Linked DNA regions of Homo sapiens: region 1 is linked to region 2. The links are contacts of gene promoters, found by promoter capture Hi-C in human tissues and cell types (Jung and others, 2019). All regions are on one chromosome and are shown on one strand. Each heading gives the region's core, a stretch centred on a gene start or on the middle of the fragment in contact. The rest is flanking DNA. Distances are from core to core; before and after follow the strand shown. Region 1 holds the start of LOC124902930 (a long non-coding RNA gene). Region 2 holds the start of FAIM2 (Fas apoptotic inhibitory molecule 2).

Region 1 (4,359 bases), core at 459-2,958, 42 kb before region 2:
GTTTGCATTTGACTTTCCCTTCATGCCAGGGAGGAAGAAGGTGTTCTCATCAAAGCTGGCGGGGCTTGGCTGTGCTTCTGGCTGGCAGCTCTGCTCACCTGCAGGGATGGCTGCATTTTTTCTACAATGGCCACTACACTGTTTCTTAGGAAGTCTATGCATCTATCATGCACTATTAATTAGAACATGACAAAAATTGCTGATGAATTCACAGCAATGTGAATGTGCTTAATGCCACTGAACTGTGCACTTAAAAATGGTTAAGATGAGGGCCAGGCGTGGTGGCTCACGCCTGTAATCCCAGCACTTTGGGAGGCCGAGGTGGGTGGATCACCTGAGGTCGGAAGTTTGAGACCAGCCTGACCAACATGGAGAAACACCATCTCTACTAAAAATACAAAATTAGCTGGGTGTGGTGGCACATGCCTGTAATCCCAGCTACTCGGAGGCTGAGGCAGGAGAATCACTTGAACCCAGGAGGTGGAGGTTGCAGTGAGCTGAGATCATGCCACTGCACTCCAGCCTGGGCAACAAGAGCGAAAATCCGTCTCAAAAAAAAAAAAAAAGTTAAGATGGTAAATTTTATGTTATGCGTATTTTATAGGCTGGGCTTGGTGGCTCATGCCTGTAATCCCAGCACTTTGAGAGGCCAAGGTGGGCGGATCACTTGAGCCCAGGAGTTTGAGACCAGTCTGGCAACATGGTGAAACCCTATCTTTACAAAAAATACTCACAAAAAATTAGCTAGGCATGGTGGTGTGCACCTGTAGTCCGGCTGATGTGGGAGGATTGCTTGAGACTGGGAGGCAGAAGTTGCAGTGAGCTGAGATTGCACTACTGCACTCCAGCCTGGGTGAAAGGGCGAGACACTGTATCACAGACACACACACAAAAAAGATATTTTAGATTTATTTAGATATCAGTCTTTAAAGTCAGAATTGCTCTTTTGCATGCATAAAAGGAAATTATAGGCAAAACAAATTGGCTAAAATAGTCCCCAGATTTCTTCACATTCAGAGTCCAATTTTTCTGAAACCCTCTTTGACTCAGAGCCTTGATTTTCTGCATGGTGTCACCTTCTGTGCCATCAGGAGCATTGGCAATGTGCCATTCTTTAAAAGATTGTCCACTATTGTTTCCACCATTTATTTTCAAGCCTCAGCCACTCATTCTGCAAGCTTTATTGCCGGGGTTTTCTTGCTTCACGTGTGACTAGCAATCATTCTGCCCTTTTCTCGGTAATAAAACAACACAACAGTTCCATTTACTTATGGGGCTCTTCCTTTCTTAGGTCTCACAAAACACTTGGCTGCTGTTTTGCAAGAAAATATGAAACTGTGGTCATTCTTCAATGATAACTGCTTCACTAATATAAAATTCTTGCTACACTCTTCTGTTTGCCCGCCTTTCTGCATACACAGTAACTGGGTTTAAATGCTAAACCACAGTGTAACCTTTTTGAAGACATTTTAAACAGCAATTAAGCTGAAGGCACGGAACTCACCTGACCAAGTTTAGGTATGCGCAGGCAATGACGGCCACTCCCAGCTGCCACACGAGCGGAAGAGCTCTTATGATGAGAAACGAGATACACCTTAGAATTGGTGAAACATGGCAGTTACAAGATTAAACCCATATGCAATGCCCATTCTGCCACGCGCTGTTCTAGACATTCTTGGATATATCAGCTCACTTAAATCCTCACAACCATCTTAGGAGCTAAATATTATCATCCTGTTTTTTAAAGATGAGGAAAATGAGACAGAGAGAGGTTAAGTAACTTTCCTGAGATTTCACAGCTAGTAAAAGTGGGAAGGCAGAATTAGAACTCCAGTAGCCTGGCTTTGAGAGAACTTTTTTGATTGTAAAGGTGAATCCCTAATTCATTCCCTGAAATAATCAAGATGGGAACGAGGTGGGAAAGAGTGCTTAAGGTCTTTGAATAATAAAGACACGGATTAGGGTGTTGTTTGCTGCTGGCTTGAAAGAGCAGGCGGGGACGGTGGAAAACAGGCGGTGGAAGGAGGGTGTCTGGGAGCTAGGCCGGGTTGAGCCGTGGCTGTGGCCGCGGCCGGTGAGGACGCCCCCTGCTGGAGCACTGTGATGGGATTCGGAGCAGCGCTGTCTGACAGTTGACGTGAGATGTGTTTCCTGCTCTGAGCTGAGTCACAAATGCCCTCTACTCTCCCCGAAAGGTCGGTAAAAGTGGGTCACACAGCAGGCCTGTGAGTCTGGTGCTTTGGGGACTGAGGGAGAAGGGAGCGGGTAGATCCACAGTCGGGGCGAAGCGGGACGAAGTGAAGAGAGCAGCCACGGGCCGCGGCTGGCAGGAGAGGAGGGTGGGAGTTGTGTCCCCGGACTCAGACAGCCTCTGAAGGATGGAGGGCGTTGGATCGTTGCAGCTCTGAGACACAGCGTGAGCCATTTGATTTCTGTGTAGGGTTTCCAGATAAAATACAGGACATCCAGGTAAATTTGAATTTCAGATAAAAAACAAATGATTTTTGTTTGTATAAGCATATTCCAAGCAATATTTGGGACATACATACTAATACCAAAAACATATTCTTTTACTGGAGGTCTGCAGACATCTGGCTTACAAACTAAATCTTCACAAGGACTTTTGGGGATGAGTTCTATGAGACCTATTTTACAAAGGAGGAAACTGAGGGACAGAGATTAGACAAGTTGCCCATGATCACAAGGCTAGTAAGTGACAGAAACAAGCTATGAATATAGAAATTCAAGCCTTCTCCTGATAATAGGCTGACTTCCTTCTCCAAACCCTACCTCAAAGGCCAGGTGGTCGTGACGGTTGAGGCCCAGGTGGAGGCAGGGAAGGCCACAGGTCCAGGCTCCTGGGGAGACACAAAGACAACTTCCTGCCATTTCCCTCCTGCCCATGGGGTGAGGCCCAGGGATGAAGAAGATGGGATCTTGCTAACCTCCCATGGCTCCCCACTGCCCTCGAGAAAGGCCAGACCTTGAACTTGGTGTGTCCTCCTTCTAGCCCTTTCATCTCTGAGCCTGATACCTATTGTTTCTTCTTTTGGAACCTGTGTCACCACCATTTCTCATGGCTAACTCTTCCTCTAACTCTAGGCCAGTGGCTTTCAGAGGTTTTTGATTGAGACCTGCAGTAAGAAATACATTTAATATCTTAACTAATAAACATGATCTCTCAGACAGACAGATAGATAGATAGATAACTGAAACTAACATTTCACAAAACAGTATTTCCTAAGTGTGATGTTGTAAATTCCTCTCTATTTCACTAACAAGTAATTCAGGTCACAACTACTAAATTGATTTTATGACCCACAAATGGGTTGCCACTCACAGTTTGAAAGACACTGGTGGAGGTTCTGGCTGAAAAATTGCTTTTTCATTGGGAGAGGCTTCCTGTAGGCCCATAACACACAGTCCCGGGGGCATCTGCCCAGGGTTTGCCTTGCCTTTTGTGTTGCTCACGGATGTGATTCTCTGTTCAGCATCGGGCTTCTCCTCTGGACTGTGAACTCCTAGAGGGCAGGGTCCATTTCTGGATTTGCTCACCATGGCACCGCAGTGCCTAGCACAGGCCCTGGCCCTTTAGAGGTGCTCAGTACATGTTTGTTGAGTGAATCAATGAGCAAACTGCCAGCCCTTATACCCCCCTTAAGCCCACTTGTGCCCTGCCCCACACCTGCTGTGTTGCAGCCACGTGGTGGTCCTCAGGGACCTGGTTCAGGGTAGAGGTTGATTCCTGGAGCTTGGATGGAGAGAGGGAGCATGTGCATGTGTGCACTGGTGGAATGAGAAGGGGCCAGGAACAAGTCTGCCCACATTTGAGAAAGATTAGATGTGGGGGGCTAGGGTCAGGGAAACCTTTCTAATAACACTGCTTTGTGAAACAGTGAGTTCCTACCTGCTTGGAGGGTCCAAGCAGGCTGAGCAAAATGCCAGAAAAGCTTGGCAAGGGTTTGTGCACCAGGGGAAGGGTTGAATAAGCTGACTAATGGGGTCCTGTCAGCTCTGCTGCGTGGAGGAGTACAGGCTGCAGGCTAATAAAGCTTCCTTATAGGAGGCAGCTGGGAGCCATTGTGGGCACTAGCAGGAGGGGAGAGCAGCTGGGAGGAGGAGTTGCAGGAGGGCAGTATCTCCTGATACTGCTCCTCCTCTGACCTCTGAATTCCTCCCAGTCCCTGGCTCCTTCCCCCATTACATCTGGAGGGGGCTGTCTGGGCTGCAGGCTCCAGAGCCAATGGTGCCTCTGTAGCCCCCGAGCTCCCTGGGCTTCCATGCACACTGTGGGAGTCCTCCTGTCAGGGCTCGGGGGCAGTGGAGAAGCTCTTACCAGCTGGTCCTGGAGAGCTGGTG
Region 2 (4,549 bases), core at 517-3,016:
TGTAGGGTTGAGAGAGCCTCTGGACACGGAGGCCCAGGCTTAAGTGTGTTTGTGCAAAATTGGTGGTTATGGAGTGGGGGACAAAGGGCAAAAAGGGGTGGGATAAAGACTTTGATAATTAGGCCAGGCACGGTGGCTCACACCTGTAATCCCAGCACTTTGGGAGGCTGAGGAGGGTGGATCACTTGAGGTCAGGAGTTGGAGACCAGCCTGGCCAACATGGTGAAACCCTGTCTCTACTAAAAATACAAAATTAGCCGGGCGTGGTGGTGCGCGCCTGTAATCCCAGCTACTCAGGAGGCTGAGGCAGGAGAATCACTTGAACCCGGAAGACAGAGGTTGCAGTGAGCCAAGATTGTGCCACTGCACTCCAGCCTGAGCAACAGAACAAGATTTTCTCTGTAAAAAAAAAAAAAAAAAAAAAAAAAAAGACTTTGATAATTTGTCTGCCTACCTGGGCCCTGCTTTCTCAGGGACTTTAGGTGGGTCCCTGGGCAGTGAGAGGGAAGCAGAAGGTAAGTGGCCACCCCCACCTGTCCCAGGTCTTAGTTTCTCGTCCCATCCTAGCAGGTTCAGATACTTCTTTTAGGCAGATTTGTGGGTGCTCGCTCTGGGGCAGCCCAGGACATTCTGGTAGGAGACTCCTCAGTTAATAATACCTCACATACTTCCAGCACTTCTTGGTCTTTTATGTGCTTTTACGGCCATAACCTGTGCGTCTGACAGTCAATCTAGGATGGACAGAGCTCTGTTCTAAGCCTCTTTTTCGTAGGAGCTGCAGCTCAGAGAGGTTAAGGGCCTTGCCAAGGCCACGCGGCCAGTGGGTGACTAAATTGGGACTTGATCCCAGCTCTTGAGATTGCAAACCCCATAGTGACACTGCAGCAGCTACAGAAAACGGGGCCTGATGATGGCTGGGTCCCAGTGACACGTCTGGGGAAGCGGGGAGAACGAGCTCTGGCATGGGAGGAATGGAAAAGGGGGGAAGATGGAGACGGGGTGATGGAAGCTAAGCGTGGAGGCAGGAAGAGAGCTCTGGCAGGGGTTGTAGAGGCTTTGAGACAGAACTAGCGGTGTCTCCAGAAAGACCCCGTGAAATGTCCCAGCAGGGCTGAAAGAAACAGAAGAGGTGTCCTCCCACCCCATGTCTCTGTGAACCAAGGCAGGGAGGGACCTACTGTGTGCATTTCACAGGCGAGAAAAAGGAGCAAGGATAGGTGGCTATTGGCTTGCCCCAGGCCCACAGGAGCGCAGGGCCCAGGGGCCCTGTTAGAAGCGGGCAGCACAGGCGAGACTTCCAGACCTTCCCCTCTACCAGGGATGATGAAATAGATGATGAGAGGGGAGGTGGAGATGGAGACAGAAATCAGGGCCGCATCCAAAGAGGGAGGAGGAAAAGGCAGAGGCGCAGCTGGAGCTGCAGAGAGGTGCAGAGACAGTGGAGATGAGGCCCTGATGCCCGGCTCTGGTTTCACGCGGGCAGCGTCAGCTGGTCGGTGTCACGGAGTTCCCGCGTCCTCCGCCCGCTCAGCCCCCGCGGACCCATCCACTGGGGTTGCTCCGCAGCGCGACTCTCTCTCATCCCGGGGGAGGGCTAAGGGCGGCGGTGGGGGGCGGGGTGGGGGGGAAGCGGCGGGAGGGGGCGGTGCGCCGCCGCCTTACCCCGGGCTCGCGAATCCGCAGCGTCCTCCGCAGCATCTTCCCAGGCCCGGCCCTCTCCTCCCCCCGCGCCGATGGTACGCGCCGGCTCGCCTGGCCCGGCTGCAGTGGATGTTGCTAGAACCCACGCGGAGGAAGGAAGAGACGCAGGCAGGCTGCGGTTACCCAAGCGGCCACCCGGGCCTCAGGGACCCCTTCCCCGAGAGACGGCACCATGACCCAGGGAAAGGTACCGGCATCTCCCCAGCCTGCACCATCCTCCATCCTCCGGCTCCCGGCTCCCTGTCATCCTCAGCAAGCCCTCTGGACCACGAAAGCATCCTCCCCTGGCCCTAGTTTGAAGGTCCTCCGTGGTCCTTGCTGAAGTCAGAGGACCGAAAGGCCGGTGTCAAGGAATGGACCGAGGCCTCTTCCTGCCCGCAGGCGCGCCTCTCCTCCCCTGTCACCCTGCCACCCCTGCTTTGGCATTACAGCATTACAAGGCTCCTCACAGATACCCAGGCCCCCCGTGAGGAGTCAGCCCGGGCGTCTGGTGTGACTGTATGTGTGTGCATGGGTATGTGTGTGCCAGGGTGAGCCCTGAGGGGCAGTGCCTATCGGGCAACCCCCTCTGGCCCAACCCTCCAGTCCCAAACCCAACCACTTTATGCTCATCTTTCCCACCCTCCACGGAAACAACCCCCACCCTACTCCCTGCCATTGTTCCACATCTGGGCGTCTTGGCTCCATCCCTGTGCTTGGGGCTTGCTATGACAACTCTGCATCAAGATGCTCTAATTGTTGTTTTGGTTTTGGCCAGGCATGGATGGGTCCGGATGAAGCATCTCTTCTCCAGTTTTAGGCCTGAATTGTAGGGGAGGGGCTGGGGCAGAGACTCGGCTGGCCTAGTAGGCTTATGTAACATCAATAGCCTGTGGAATTATACAACCACTAGGGCCTGGGGCTAAGGGGGAGGGTACTCGGGCCCTCTGTTTGGGTTGCTAAGGATTGGGCAGAGAAAACAGGGGAAGGACCTCCCCTACACTCCCCCTTCTTCTCTTTGAGAGGAGCTTCAGAGCCAATGACATCCTTCCCTGGACCCTCAGACCCTCCTCTCCCTGTATGCAAGCTCTTTGGGCCTCAAATGATGTCACTGGGTGATACCACCTCCCGCCATTGGTCACACCTCACTTGGGAGTGCCGTATGTGTGTCGGGGGCCTGGGCATTAGGGTCCAGGAGGCTCTGGGGGGCGGAGTGGCAGGGTGGAGGCTGAACTCGATTTAGGTGGACATGATCCTTCAGATCCGGGTGATGAGGGGGGCTGGGGAGTGGGAGGCAGTGGGAGGCCTGGGGAGTGTTCAGTTCCGTAAACATGGAGAACTCACCCCTTCTGCTGAGTCTCCTTCCACCTCCACCCTGCCTCCACCAGGCCCTTTAGTGGCGCTGTTCCCTTCCTGGTGTGAGGGGGACCTCTGCCTCCTCTGCCCCTTGTCCCCAGCTCACGCACAGGCTTGCTGGGGGATGGAGAAGACCGCTCCAGTTCAGTGGTCCTTGGGCCTGGATGGAACCAGAAGTCTTCTGGTGCGTGCCTGTCTCCAGGCTGCCTCAGCCAGATGCTCCCTGCAAAGAAGGAAGTCCGCAGTCTTCCTCAGTGGCCCTTTAGGTCTAACACAGTCTTCTGGGAACCAGACCTAAATCCCATTTTCTGAGAGCCGGGCTTTTTGTTGCTGTTTCAATTTCACACCACCCCCTCCACCCCAGTCTTTCCTTCTCTGGCTGCCTCATTCAGGCCTTCCCAGCTCAAATCCTCTCACCAAAGCTAAACATGTCCACGGGTGGGGGGCAGGGGACACATCTGAGTGTAAATGGACTCGCATTTCCAACCTGCCATGGGGACGTTTCCCTTTGAGCCTCAGTTTCCTCATCTGTTCAGTGACGGAAGAGACTCAACTGGATGTCTTCTGAGGCCCCTTCCACTGGGTCACTCTGTGAGTCTGTTCTGGTTTAGGGGAGAGGCTGAGATTCCTACAGGATGAGGCCAGAACAGACCCTTAGCCTGGATCCTCTTGCCCTTCCTCCACCCTGAAGGCCCTTCTTCTTTTCTGTTTTCTCCCTCTCCTCTTCCCTTTCTGTTGCCCTTCTCTCTCCCATCTCCATTCTCCTTGCATCACTTCCAGCGCAACAGAAGGATCAATCCCAGTGGATGATGCCTAGGCCCTGCCTCTCAGTGGGCCACATGCAGCTCTGTGACCTTGGATGAATCGCTCTTCCTCTGTGATCCTCATTCTCCTCATTTTAAAGCAGGGGTCAAAATGCAGCTAGCAAGTCTCAGGAAGATTAAATGACATAACCTTTTATTTGTAACAATCTACTATGTGCCAGGCTCTTTTCTGGAACCATAGAGACCCTGCCCCTACCCCAGGGACAATGACAGTGACAACCAATGGTGGACACTCCTAAGAATTTTCTCTTTCCTCTGTTCCTATCCCAGCTCCACCATGTGCCCCAGCTAGCTCTGACCCCTCTGGAGCTTAGTTCTCTTGTCTATAAAATAGAGACATTCTTGTCTGCATTCCTGGCTTCCAAGTGCAGGTAAGGAAGGAACCATGAAAGTTCCAGGAATTGAAGAGTTGGTGAGGAGGAGGAGTTGGAAGGCTCCCTTTCCCTGGTGACTATCTCTCTCTCTGACTCTACTCCATAGCTCTCCGTGGCTAACAAGGCCCCTGGGACCGAGGGGCAGCAGCAGGTGCATGGCGAGAAGAAGGAGGCTCCAGCAGTGCCCTCAGCCCCACCCTCCTATGAGGAAGCCACCTCTGGGGAGGGGATGAAGGCAGGGGCCTTCCCCCCAGCCCCCACAGCGGTGCCTCTCCACCCTAGCTGGGCCTATGTGGACCCCAGTAAGTCTTTCAG

What was found. Contacts are between HindIII fragments. The study calls those that stand out against the background at their distance.
Region 1: a fragment that was not itself captured here is called in contact with the fragment with the promoter of FAIM2 in region 2 in 7 of the 25 tissues and cell types used here (IMR-90 fibroblasts, bladder, heart left ventricle and 4 more).

The regions. Positions count from the first base shown.
Region 1 is chr12:49,943,461-49,947,819 of GRCh38, reverse strand. It overlaps LOC124902930 (a long non-coding RNA gene), which reads left to right and starts at 2,113. Exons shown (of 2, transcript XR_007063302.1): 1 at 2,113-2,195. LOC105369763 (a long non-coding RNA gene) reads right to left here. Exons shown (of 5, transcript XR_944948.3): 2 at 3,341-4,359; 3 at 2,791-2,858; 4 at 1,505-2,432; 5 at 897-1,312. RefSeq lists enhancers at 1,069-1,944, 1,920-2,214, 1,945-2,821 and a silencer at 2,041-2,281. The HindIII fragment of the contact is 4,586 bases long and covers 1-4,001 here.
Region 2 is chr12:49,901,117-49,905,665 of GRCh38, reverse strand. It overlaps FAIM2 (Fas apoptotic inhibitory molecule 2), which reads left to right and starts at 1,766. Exons shown (of 12, transcript NM_012306.4): 1 at 1,766-1,888; 2 at 4,341-4,536. The coding sequence starts at 1,874. The HindIII fragment of the contact is 14,088 bases long and covers 1-4,549 here.